2 separate regions of the Homo sapiens genome follow, and region 2 is linked to region 1. The links are contacts of gene promoters, found by promoter capture Hi-C in blood cells and fetal thymus (Javierre and others, 2016). All regions are on one chromosome and are shown on one strand. Each heading gives the region's core, a stretch centred on a gene start or on the middle of the fragment in contact. The rest is flanking DNA. Distances are from core to core; before and after follow the strand shown. Region 1 holds the start of KBTBD6 (kelch repeat and BTB domain containing 6). Region 2 overlaps KBTBD6-DT (KBTBD6 divergent transcript).

Region 1 (6,892 bases), core at 2,149-4,648:
TGAAAAGAGAATCATTGATATCCCTGGGAGGTTTTCCCCAATTCCCTGTAGTTGCCTCAATTTGGAGGTAATTCCAGAAGGACACACCATTGACAGGTGGGATAGCAGCTTTAAATATTTTGAAGTCCCAGACAATCAGTCCAAATGCCCTTGGGGAAGGCATGAAAAGTGGTATCCTATGGGGAAACAGGTGGGGTCTGAGGTATAGTAATTATTAACAATTACTGGGATTAACAACTGGGTAGATCCCTCAGAAGAGCAGAGTCTTTGTGTGGAACTGAACGCAGTTTGTAAGGCTGGTTGGGAAGTGGTGGAAGAGAAAATGGTTATTATTAGGGATAAAAGTGCTCCTACATTTTTTCCTACACTTGATCCTGAAAAAGTGGAGTCATTGAGTTTGGAGATTTCAAGAGACTCATTAATCATGTTAAGAATTAAGTTTCATTTAGTACATGCTGAGAAATTGGGGATAATAGAAGAGTCAAGGGCCATTAGGCATGAGACTCTGGGCAGGTTGAGTTCCTTAAAGAGTTTGGCTAGTTTGAATATAACGGTACCACTGGCCTGCTTGTTTCATTTTCCAGAGGACTGGTAAGGAGACTGCAGTTTTTGTAACATTGGAAGTACTTGTTGAAGATCCTGAATAACCTTACTACTGAAGTGAGTTCCTCCACTGTTATTAAAAAAAACAGAGATCCCTAGGAGGGGAAAATTCTTTCTGGTATCAGGTTAACTTCAGTGGTGATAGTAGCTTGTTTACAGAGAAAAGCTTTTAACCATGCTGAAAACATGCCAACTATGGTTAAAACATATTTGTACCCATAAGACTTTGAGAGTTGATATATTTTCCAATGAAAACAAGGACTAGAGAGAGTTGACTCTCATGCTTGTCCCACTTTACATGTTGACTAGGATTGTGTTTCTGGCAGATGGGGCAAGTTGAAGTTAACTGCTCAGTATTAGGGCATCCCCAACAATATTTGCGGAGAAAGATTTTCTTTGCCATAATGTGTAATCTCATGGAGGCTGCAGAATAAATTTTGGGTGAGGGACCAAGAGAAATCAATGATGTCTAGGTGTCTCCAAAGCCCATCTGAGTAGAAAAAACATCCAGCTTGTTGCTTTTTTGCTTTTTCAGCCTCAGGTGCTAGCAGCTGTTATATCTTAAGTTTCTTAAGAGTTTCTGTCTTTAGAGTAGGTTGAGCAAGGAGAAGTATACACGTGATTCAGGAGGTGTTTTCTTGGGAAGCAGCAACCTTAGCATATTTTCAGCCAGTTAAGTTTCCTTTAGCTTTGTTAGTCCAGCCACTAGTGTGAGCTTTGATTTTTGAGAATGGCTAATTTCTGGATAGCTGTAAGGACTTAAACAGGGGGGCTGGGCGCGGTGGCTCACGCTTGTAATCCCAGCACTTTGGGAGGCCGAGGCGGGTGGATTACCTGAGGTCAGGATTTTGAGACCAGCCTGGCCAACGTGGCGAAACCCCATCTCAACTAAAAGTAAAAAAAAAAAAAAAAAAATTAGCCGGTCATGGTGGTGGGTGTCTGTAATCCTAGCTACTCAGGAGGCTGAGGCAGGAGAATCGCTTGAACCCGGGAGGCGGAGGTTGCAGTGAGCCAAGACCGCGCCACTGCAACTCCAGCCTGGGTGACAAGAGCGAGACTCCATCTCAAAAAAAAAAAAAAAAGACTTAAATAAGTTAGTGAGTTGGGTTCTGAGTGGTACTCCTCAGTTGTCATAAACCTCTTTCTTTCCATAGCATACCAAAATAACGTGCAATTCCAAAAGTAAACTGGCTGTCTCTATAAATGTTAGTTCCCTTATCTTGTGCTAACATGCAAGTTTGGGTGAGTGCTTAAGAATTCAATGATTTGGGCCATGTTAACTTAAGTGGAGATTTCAACTTAATAGGCTGTTGAAAATCTGCAATAGTGTATCCTGCTTAAAATTCCCCATTTGTACTCCTGAGGTAAGAACCATCTACAAAGGTGATATCAAGGTCTCTGAGAGGAGTTCTGGTGATGTCAGAGTGAGGAAATGTGAATGACTGTGTGACGGTGATTCAGTCACAAGGTTGTCCTTCAGAGGGAATGGGAAGAAGAGTGGCTTGATTGTTTTGACTACGGTGGACAGTGATGAGAGAGGAAGACAGTGGCAGGGTTTCACAGGAGGTGAGTCCGAAGCGGAAACGTGTTAGGTGTTCTCAGTGACTTCTAATGTCTGAACTGCACGGGGTAAGTAAAGGTTGAGTGAATGACTAGAAATAAAGTCAGCTCTGATGGAGAGGCAACTTCATACAAGCAAGGGGAGAAATGCTTGAGCCACTGGGTCTAAAAGGATGCTAAATTACCAACCAGGCCTCTGGCTTCCATTGTGTTTTGGGGTGAGGACCCCCTAAAGCATGTCTCTTCTTTTGTGTAAAAAAGGGAAAGGGGTACTGAATATTGGAGAGACCAAGTGGGAGAAGTGGCTACAGAGGACTTCAGGTTTTGAAATGCAGATATGGAAGGAAAGTCTCAAAGTCAGGTGACTGGAGGTGGTCTCCTTTTAGTCATGGCAAATAAGGACAGGCAATTGTGAAAAAGCCAGGGATCTAATTCCAGCGATAGCCAACCAATCCTACAAACCCTGAGTTATCTTTTGGTACCAGGGAGAGGCATAGTGAGTAAAAAAAAAAAAAAAAAAAAAATCACTTCTAATGGATACATACACTAATACAAGATGTTAATAATAAGGGAACTGTGAAGTGGGGAGAGATATATGGAAGTTCCCTGTCCCTGCTGCTCAATTTTTCCGTAAACCTAAAAATAAAATCTAATTTACACACACACACACACACGCCCCTAAAAAGGGATCTCTGCTGGAACTTGCAAGGTTTTCTGTTTTGGGGGGTTTTTTGTTTTCCTACAGGCTCATAATTTCAAATTAGTGGTGCTTCCTTTTTTTTTTTTTAATAAAGGCTGGAAGAAAACTTATCGAACCTTTATAATTCTAAGAACTGAGTAATTATTCTACAAACCAACAAATATTTATTAACAGCGTCCTATAACCAACTCATGTAATCTTCACACAATCCTATGAAATACTACTGTTCACGTCTTACAAAAGAAGAAACAGTTCAAAGAGACAAGTCAAACAATACATACTAGAACGAGGCGACTACTCTGGATTCCAAAACCACAGTTCCAAACCACAAAATCGAATCTAGGAAAATTGGCGCTCTCGAGTGTCGTCAGCTAAAACAAGGAACACCAGAGAAGGATCGCGATATTACACAAACTACTACTCCCGACATGCAAAGCGGATTCTTTCCCTCGGTCTCGGCCCGGGAGTCCGAGAGTCCCAGCAGCCCTCGGGGCGCGAAAGGCAACCTGGGAGCGGTAGTTCTCCTGGGCGCCTAGCATTGTCGCCCACGCTGCAGTAGCGGCTTCTGCGGCTCCAAGCCAGCGGGTCCTGTGAAGGCGAGCAGACGCGGAGAAAGGACGCGGGAGTGAGAGAGGGTGAGTCAGCCACTGTCTAAACGATAACGGGAGGCGGTTCTGCGGGGTAGGGTTGAATTCAGTAAATGGGCTCGTGCTGCTGTCTCTTCGGAGACGCTGCTATCTTAGCGTCAGCGAGGGAAGGTTGAGGAGGAGCCAGAGCCGGGTCCTGCAGCGTTTCTCGCCATCAGCGCCCGTCGCCATCTCCACCATGCAGTCCCGGGAAGACGCCCCGCGCTCTCGCCGCCTAGCCAGTCCCCGTGGTGGGAAGCGGCCCAAGAAGATTCACAAACCCACAGTTTCGGCCTTTTTCACGGGTCCAGAGGAATTAAAGGACACGGCCCATTCTGCAGCCCTGCTGGCACAGCTCAAGTCCTTCTACGATGCGCGGCTGCTGTGTGATGTGACCATCGAGGTGGTGACGCCTGGCAGCGGGCCTGGCACGGGTCGCCTGTTCCCCTGCAACCGCAATGTGCTGGCCGCGGCATGTCCCTACTTCAAGAGCATGTTCACAGGTGGCATGTACGAGAGCCAGCAGGCCAGCGTGACCATGCACGATGTGGACGCCGAGTCCTTCGAGGTGTTGGTCGACTACTGCTACACGGGTCGTGTGTCTCTCAGTGAGGCCAACGTGGAGCGCCTGTACGCGGCCTCCGACATGCTACAGCTGGAATATGTGCGGGAAGCCTGTGCCTCCTTCTTAGCCCGACGTCTTGACCTGACCAACTGCACCGCCATCCTCAAGTTTGCAGATGCCTTTGGCCATCGCAAGCTGCGATCCCAGGCCCAGTCCTATATAGCTCAGAACTTCAAGCAACTCAGCCACATGGGTTCAATTCGGGAGGAGACTCTAGCAGATCTGACCCTGGCCCAGCTGCTGGCTGTCCTGCGCTTGGATAGTCTGGACGTGGAGAGTGAGCAGACAGTGTGCCATGTGGCAGTGCAGTGGCTGGAGGCTGCTCCCAAAGAGCGGGGTCCCAGTGCTGCAGAAGTCTTCAAGTGCGTGCGCTGGATGCACTTCACTGAAGAAGATCAGGACTACTTAGAAGGGCTGCTGACCAAGCCCATCGTGAAGAAGTACTGCCTGGACGTTATTGAAGGGGCCCTGCAGATGCGCTATGGTGACCTGTTGTACAAGTCTCTGGTGCCAGTGCCAAACAGCAGCAGCAGCAGTAGCAGCAGCAACTCTCTTGTATCTGCAGCAGAAAATCCACCCCAGAGACTGGGTATGTGTGCCAAGGAGATGGTGATCTTCTTTGGACACCCCAGAGATCCCTTTCTCTGCTGTGATCCATACTCGGGGGACCTTTACAAAGTGCCGTCACCTTTGACCTGTCTGGCTCACACTAGGACTGTCACCACTTTAGCTGTCTGTATCTCTCCTGACCATGACATCTATCTAGCTGCTCAGCCCAGGACAGACCTCTGGGTGTATAAACCAGCTCAGAATAGTTGGCAGCAACTTGCAGATCGCTTGCTGTGTCGTGAGGGCATGGATGTGGCATATCTCAATGGCTATATCTACATTTTGGGGGGGCGAGACCCTATTACTGGAGTTAAGTTGAAGGAAGTGGAATGCTACAATGTTAAGAGAAACCAGTGGGCATTGGTGGCTCCACTGCCCCATTCTTTTTTATCCTTTGACCTAATGGTAATTCGAGACTATCTCTATGCTCTCAACAGTAAGCGCATGTTCTGTTATGATCCTAGCCACAATATGTGGCTGAAGTGCGTTTCTCTGAAGCGCAATGACTTTCAGGAAGCCTGCGTCTTCAATGAGGAGATCTATTGTATCTGTGATATCCCAGTCATGAAGGTCTACAACCCAGTTAGGGCAGAATGGAGGCAAATGAATAATATTCCCTTGGTCTCAGAGACCAACAACTACAGAATTATCAAGCATGGCCAAAAATTGTTGCTCATCACCTCTCGCACCCCACAGTGGAAAAAGAACCGGGTGACTGTGTATGAATATGATATTAGGGGAGACCAATGGATTAATATAGGTACCACATTAGGCCTCTTGCAGTTTGATTCTAACTTTTTTTGCCTCTCTGCTCGTGTTTATCCTTCCTGCCTTGAACCTGGTCAGAGTTTCCTCACTGAAGAAGAAGAAATACCAAGTGAGTCTAGCACTGAATGGGACTTAGGTGGATTCAGTGAGCCAGACTCTGAGTCAGGAAGTTCAAGTTCTCTTTCTGATGATGATTTTTGGGTGCGTGTAGCGCCTCAGTGAAATGCACAGGATCAACAGGGTTTGTTGTAACTAGATTGAAACACTAAGTTGTTTTTACTGTTTTGGAAAATATCTTAAATATCCTTTTTGTTCCTAAAGGAGAGGAAAAGTTGATTAACTTCTGGTTTGGTTTAGAAAAAGTAATGTTTGAAATACGAAGGTAATTTAATGTTACAAATTTTAACACTCAAATCAACCTTTTAATAATTTTCTGTGCTAAGGGTCCAGTATTTATTTGATTATTTAGTATGTTTATGTTTCATGACACTAATTTAGTCTTTTGATACATTTTACATTCTGTTTACTGCCACAAGCACTGTGGCAATAACTTTTGAATTTTAATTTTTATAATAGAAAAATGATTAGGAATTGCTAGATAGTGTTTTGAAAGCATATCTTTTTCTTCAGAACAATGTAGACTTCCAAAATGGTTAACCTAAGGGGTCTTTACAAAATGTGTTATAAGTTAAACATAATTTGGGAAGTTTTACTTTTGTTTTCTTCTATGAAGAAAAAAATGCAGGCTGGGCGCGGTGGCTCACGCCTGTAATCCTAGCACTTTGGGAGGCCGAGGCAGGTGGATCACCTGAGGTCAGTTCAAGACCAGCCTGGCCAACATGGTGAAACCCCGTCTCTACTAAAAATACAAAAATTAGCTGGGCGTGGTGGCATGCGCCTGTAATCCCAGCTACCCAGGAGGCTGAGGCAGGAGAATTGCTGAAACCCGGGAGTCAGAGGCTGCAGAGAGCCGAGACTGGGCCACTGCACTCCAGCCTGGATGACAGAGTGAGACTCCGTCTCAAAAAAAAAAAAAAAAAAAAAAGGAAAAAAAAAAAAGAAAAAAAACCATATGTGTATTAGGGTGACTGAGTGGTGACTTCATTTATAATAATACAGAGAATAGCTATAAGCTCATTGACAGTAAAAACAACAAACCAGGATTCTACTGTTTGAAAAGAAGTTTCGTTTTAATTTTGGAATTTAGAATGTGTATTTGCAAAGTCACCAATTTTCATCTAAAAGGTTATATTCTAGTTGTGTCACCAAATCATCAAAAAACCTTAAAAAAGAAGTAACTTGCTTTGTAGGTTTGTATTGTTGATCTAAACCTGATACATGCTTCATTTAATCAGGAATAATCCTTTTTTTTCTGCTGGACATGTATAAATTTCACTGGAT
Region 2 (6,789 bases), core at 1,521-4,020, 53 kb before region 1:
AATATATCTTAGTAGCAAAAGTTCATTGTCTCTTCATAAATAGGAAAACAAATGGTTGGAAAAGTGCATCTACCTGAAAGGGATCTATAGTAAATGTAGTCAAAAAATATAATCAATTTTTTAAACCCTGCTCATTAAACCAGGAACCAGTGCTTTGCCTGATGTTATTTTTACCAATTTGTGCTGAAGTGAAAAACTATAAAACACAATGAATGAGCTGTAAGATAAAAATTATTCTATTTGTTTTATTGTTCATAAATTGGAAATGTAAAAATGTTTCAGCCTTATATCAGTCCCCTAAACACTAAAAGAAAATTGACTGGTCTTTGAAATCCAAAAATCTGATCACCAGAATGTAAATATCCTTTCATCAAATCTCTACTTCCCATATCTATTTGAAACTTCAACACTGTTTCATCTTTACAACTAATTTTAAAAGAATATTTGTTACAGCAAATATAATAAAGCAGAAAGTATTAGGAGGCAAAATTATAGAAAAGGTGACTAGCAATCCCAAGAGAATTAATTGATAATCTATTTGAGAACCATAGAGTTGATTAGATACAAGACAGTTTTTAAATGAAAAATAACAACAAAAAGGTACCATTCAGAGAAGTTGCCAAATTTTAGAGGAGTACCTTATAGGCAATAGGTTTTATGCCCTTTTCTTAACTCTGGGCTATTTTGTCACCTAGACCTTTGCCAACAGCTTCTGTTTCTCACTTTACCCTTGTGGATTCAACATGGTCCAAGGCACAGGGCAGGCAGGGAACAGATATTGTTGCATATTATTCCTCCATATCTGAGACATTTTCTCCTACTCTGTGGGGAGTCTCTCCAATGGAGAGATGGGGTTTCACCGTGTTAGCCAGGCTGGTCTCGAACTCCTAACCTCGTAATCCATCCACCTTGGCCTCCCAAAGTGCTGGGATTACAGGTGTGAGCCACCGCACCCAGCCAGACCCACCATATTTTAAGAATATTCTTTTAGGGACAAATTATTCGTTAATTTTGGGGAACCTAGCAAATAGCAATGGTTCTCACCTCAAGGCACAGCCTGATCCAGAGTGTCAATGTCTTCAAGGCTTTATTAGTACAGAGAATATGTCATAGGATGAGGTTTTCTCTCACTTTATACATTAGTTAGCACATAAGTTGGTTGTATGCAAGAGAGACCTTATAGATCTTTAAAAGGATTTCTCATATAACAGTCCAATCTTTTATGTGGATCCTGAGCTACAAAGTTATCTGAGACCCAGGCTTGTTGTCTTCCTGTTCTACTGCCCTTGGGGTGTTACCCTGTTTCACATGGTCCAAGGTGGTTCACCCTCATGTCCATATTCCAGCCATCAGGATGGGATGTTGGAAGGGCATGACCCTGTTCTGTAAGGGAAATTGTACATATCACTTCTGGTCACATGACATTGGCCAAATCTTAACTACATGGCCACACCTAGCTGCAAGGAAAAGGTAGTCTTTATTCTGTCAACATGTATCCAGTTAAAATTCAGTGGTTCCTTCTTGAAGAACGCTGAGAAAGAACATTGGGATACAAACAGCAATCTCTACTACATCATCTGTCAGGCTAGATTTTTATCACCTGACAGCTAAAATGACTGCCAGGAGTCCCAAGAACTGCAGTGTACCAACTTAGAAACCCCATTGGTATGCTTCTCTCTTTATATTAGTAATTTAGATAGTAATAACTTTTTTAAAAATCCAGTGGAAAGTGGCAATATTTTATGTATTCTCTGGCAGAAAATTCCCTGTGGGTTCTAGGACTCTGATCGCTTGTAAGAGATAAAGTTGGGAAATGTTGAGGAAAACCAATAGGTAAGCAAATAACCTCAATAAAGGTTATAGTTCCTATTGTGGCAGATTCTACAGAGACTGCAGAGTTGCAAAGGTGGGAATGTTCAGAGTACAGCATGTATTTTGATGTAACCTGATCCTAGGATGGAAGGGGAAGCTTGGCATAAGAACAAGCTGGAAAAGTTGGTAGGCATCAGCTCTTGAAGGTCTTATATGCCGTCAAGGAGTTTGGACTTTTTGATTTTTTTTGCATACAATGTGAATTCATTGAGAATTTTAAAATAGGGATTTGACAAAATCGGATTTGTTTTATTGAGACCCTTCTGGATGTACTGACAGTGCAAGATTGTGGCAGCAAGAAGAACATTTAAAGGGATGTGTTGTTGTAGTCCAGACAGTGACATAATGTGGTTCTCAACAGGGGGAGTAGTTATGGAATTGATGAGGAAGGAACAGATAAGTCAGTTAAATTGATCTGGACCTAAAATTGTATGTTTGGAGATGAGGGAGCTGTAGGGAGTATGACTAAAGTGATTTCCCGTTTCTTGCTTGGATGTTGTGTTAGAGTACAGGCCAAACTTCCATATCAAAGAGGCCCTGGAATGTAAGGTAGAAACCATTTTGTATATACATTCAGTCCAGAAGTGAACAGCCAGGCATTGCAGACTAGTTCTGCCCCATGGGGTTGTTCACAGGCCCAGGTTCTTTTATCGTTTATCCTCCCAACCCCCAGTGAGTTGTCTGTCCTCATGAGCAAAGCACATTCACCAGAATTGTATCTGTGTTTTCAGCCTGTGAAAAAGGGGAAAGAGGAAATGGAAGGCAAAAAATCTTTTCATTTTAAAGGACGTTTACATCACTTTTGCCATTTTTTTTATTGGGGAGAACTTAATCATATCACCATGCCCAGTTGCAAGATGAACTGGGAAATATTGTCACTAAATGGATGTGCCTTGCTAAAACTCACGGAGCTCTATTAATAAATAGTGTTAATAAATGAATATATTTTAATATAAACATGTTCGGTTTTCTGTATTCAGATTCAGGTGGTTCACAATGTCATGCAGGCATTATTGTTATCATGGTCATTTCAGATATCCCTACAATTATCCTTCCACAATAAATTCACAGCCAAAAGTTAAATTTCATATCATGCTGAATAATGATTTTTTAATAAACAAATGGGCCCCTGCATACCTTTAACACAGAGAGACACAAACTTGCCTCATATTTTTGCTATTAGGTCTAGTATTCCTAGGAGTGGCAGAAATTAAGCCTCCAAGGTGCCCAGGGTTCTCTCCCTTAATCCCTAAACTTTTTCCAATCCCCTTGCCTTCTCCTCTGGGAACTTACTGGCTTAGCCTTCTCACTTATCCCATATCCCAAAAGCTCTATTACTAAAAGGAAGGAGAATGGATGAGGGCACAATTAGCAATCTCCATCACAGTTGACTAAATGGATGGTGCTGCTGTTTAATGGATTTGGGAACACGGGAGTCTTGATTTGGAGACATTAGTAGATGTATTTGGTGTCCCATATCACAGGCCTTTGGCCCACCTCTGATTAAGCTACAGCTATGGCAGAAGGGAAAGGTTGATATAGATGGAGATGAATTTCTGGGTATGGCTTTGGACATCAGGTAGCTTATACCTCTAATGTTTTCTTTCTTTGAATTAGAATGCAAGAATTTCTGCTGAAAGGGGACCCCCATGGGCAAGGGTGCTTGAAGAGAGGGTGAACCTACTAACTGGTAAGCTTCCTGAGATCAGGGGATAAGGTTTATTTCATCTTTATAGCCCTCATAACACTAATCAAAGAGCCTTGAACACAGTTGAAAAAACATTTAATATTGGAAGTGTTACTGTAAAATAGAACCGCTCATATTCTAGATCTTAACAATGTAAGATATATATAATATAAATTTATGTTTTTACATAATCCTTTAGTGGCCTGAATTTCTGTATATTGTTCTTCATCATAAGTTGATTCTTAATTTTTTGTCAGTTAGAATCATGAATATTAGAGCCCAATTTTCTTTTTTTATTTTTTAATTGAGACAGGGTCTCACTCTGTTGCCCAGGCTGGTGTCTAGTGGTGTGATCACAGCTCACTGAAGCCTCAACCTCCCTGGTAGAGCCCAGTTTTCTTATATAAACCCAAGGAACTTTAAATAATTTACCAAGGCTTGTACTGCTAGTTATTCATAAAACTGGAATTAGAACTGTGTTTCCTATCTCTTAAAGCACTTTCTAGTACACACTCTTGCCTGCTGAATAGCACTACCTCAAACAGGACTCAGAAAGTAAAATCACTATTGTTCTTTTTTTTTTTTTGTATTTTTTGTAGAGACAGGATTTTACCATGTTGCTCAGGCTGGTCTTGAACTCCTAAGCTCAAGGGATCAGCCTGCCTTGGCCTCCCAAAGTGCTGGGATTACAGGTGTGAGCCACCACACCTGGACTATTGCTCTGCTTGAGATTTATTTGGTCCTCCAGTCTAGTCCTGATGCACCTTAGGGCACGTGGTCTGGAATTTCTGACTCTTTACTCAGAACTCTGAATCAAGAGACGGCCCAACTAAAAGTCATCTTAGAACAATGGAGAAGGAGTGTGAAAAATTGGCTTTAACTGAAAACAAAACCCAATCAAACCCTTCAGTGATGATAAGTTTTAAAGTATTAAAACACAGTATTATTTTTAGTGTTATATTATGCTTATATTTTAGTATTCTATTTAGTATTTATATTTTTTTGTATTTTATTTTGACCATGTCAGTTCAGATAATCTCAATGAGAGCATTTAGCTAATTTAATAAATATTAAATTATTTTTATATTTAAATTCACAGTTATGATATAATTATATCAAGGTAATAATAAGATGTACCTTCCCAAATACTACCTATGTTCTGTGTATTCCCTGAATAAGAATTGAATGAATGCTTAAGGAGCAATAAAATCATTTCTAAATCTAAACAATTTGCACAGTATTACAGTAAAAATTTAAAGATATCACATCATATTTATTTCAAAATGCAATCTAAACTTTTCAAAAGCCTTTGTGCGTTTACTATCATGAGATATTTAATTATACCTGGAATCAACCTTAAAGTTACCATGCTGATAATAATGCTTGAGATATCTGAAATACCAAGGACTCTTAATAGCTGTGTATCCAGTTCACAATGTTCTAAGAACTTTGTGTCTTTTTCTCATGTCAGCTCTGTTTGTTAATGTTAAAGAAGGGAGAAATGTTGGGAGGCCAAGGTGGGTGGATTGCCTGGGGTCAGGAGTTCGAGACCAGCCTGGGCAACACAATGAAACCCCATCTCCACTAAAATACAAAAAATTAGCCGGGTGTGGTGGTGTGCGCCTGTAGTCCTTGCTACTCGGGAGGCTGAGACAGGAGAATTGCTTGAACCGGGGAGGAGGAGGTTGCAGTGAGCCAAGATCACGCCACTGCACTCCAGCCTGGGCGATAGAGTGAGACTCCATCTCCAAAAAAAAAAAAGAAGGGAGAAATGACAGAAAACTAGAATCAGCCAACTGTACAACTTGTCAGGAAACCTAGAAGATTTGGAGAAAGGGGAGGCATACCCTAGTGTTTAAAATGAGATCTGTGGAGGTGGGGCTTTAACGGATTTCACATCTTTTTGATGAAGACATACTAATAATATATCTAAAACAAGAATTCCTCTAAATATGTAAAGTCCTCAAATCTTACCATATATAAAACATTTTATCAACATAGAAGGGTTCCATTTTGCCTTGAAAGTAAATATGACAAAATTAAGTTGAAGTCTTTGGAATAATAGGATGCTGGGGACACATTTTATGAGTGGTACCTTGAAATTTCTTCAGATTAGATATTAGACACCAGAATATGCCATTTTTAGGCTGAGCATGGTGGCTTATGCCTGTAATCCCAGCACTTTGGGAGGCCTAGGCAGGATTGCTTGAGGCCAGGCATTCACGATAAGCCTCAGCAACATAGTGAGACCCTGCCTCTACAAAATAAAAATTAAAAAAAAAAAATTAGGTGTGGTTGTGCATGCCTGTTGTCCTAGCTACTTGGGAGGCTGAGGAGAGATGATCACTTGAGCCCATGAGTTTGAGGCTGCAATGAGCTATGATCACGCCATTGCATTCCCGCCTGAGTGACAGAGTGAGACCCTGTCTCTAAAAAATATATATATATGTATATATACATATATATATTTATGAATGTTTTTTAGTTATATGAGGGATAAGAAATATACCATATTCAGTTTTAACTCAGTTCTAGCATGTTCCAAGCATCTTGGTGGAGCTTTGTCTTGTTTAGCTTATTACAGAATCATTCATGCCTATACTTGTTGAAACACCTATGATTCTGCAATTCTATTTTAAATGAATCACATATATGAATGTTTTAGGAAGGGGTACCTCACAAAAGTTAGGCTACAGAGCATTTTCTGTGCCTGAATCATTTTTGCAGTGGTATATGGAGTAATGTACTTATCTGCCCTTCTATTGAAGCCCACCTCATTAGCCATAATCATCTATTCAGAACTTAGTTGCTCACTCAGTTCTTGTGCTATCTTAATCAGGGAATCCTAGTATTAATATATTCAATATATATTTACAGTATCATTTTGTGTTTATAAAAACCTCAAAACAGCTGCCAGAGAATATTTTGAATTGCTTCTCTCAATTATGTAATATAATTTTCCTTATATAATTTCTATTATGAGCTATGATACTCCTTTTTGTTTTACAAACAAAAATTTGAGATTATTGTAAATTCACATGCAGTTGTGAGAAATAATACAGAGAGATCCTGTATATCCTTCACTTGTTTTTCCCAATGGTAACACTTTGCACAACTATAGTAAAATATCACAACCAAGAAAATGACATTGATACAAATCATTAAAATTCACATTTTACCACTTTTACATGCATGCGTTTGGTGTGTGTATATTTAAATCTATGAAGTTT

What was found. The method cuts DNA at HindIII sites, captures the fragments that hold promoters and counts their contacts. A CHiCAGO score of 5 or more calls a contact.
Region 2: a fragment that was not itself captured here is called in contact with the fragment with the promoter of KBTBD6 in region 1 in 1 of 17 cell types (megakaryocytes); the score reaches 5.4 in megakaryocytes.

What each region holds. Positions count from the first base shown.
Region 1 is chr13:41,129,308-41,136,199 of GRCh38, reverse strand. KBTBD6 (kelch repeat and BTB domain containing 6) reads left to right here and starts at 3,398. Exons shown (of 1, transcript NM_152903.5): 1 at 3,398-6,892. The coding sequence starts at 3,689. The coding sequence ends at 5,713. KBTBD6-DT (KBTBD6 divergent transcript) reads right to left here and starts at 3,272. Exons shown (of 4, transcript NR_120423.1): 1 at 3,145-3,272. RefSeq lists enhancers at 3,096-3,335, 3,696-3,745. The HindIII fragment of the contact is 7,724 bases long and covers 772-6,892 here.
Region 2 is chr13:41,181,825-41,188,613 of GRCh38, reverse strand. The region is part of intron 3 of KBTBD6-DT (KBTBD6 divergent transcript); the gene reads right to left. Among named protein-coding and RNA genes, the nearest start is that of KBTBD7, 9.4 kb to the left of the region's middle. The HindIII fragment of the contact is 1,598 bases long and covers 1,972-3,569 here.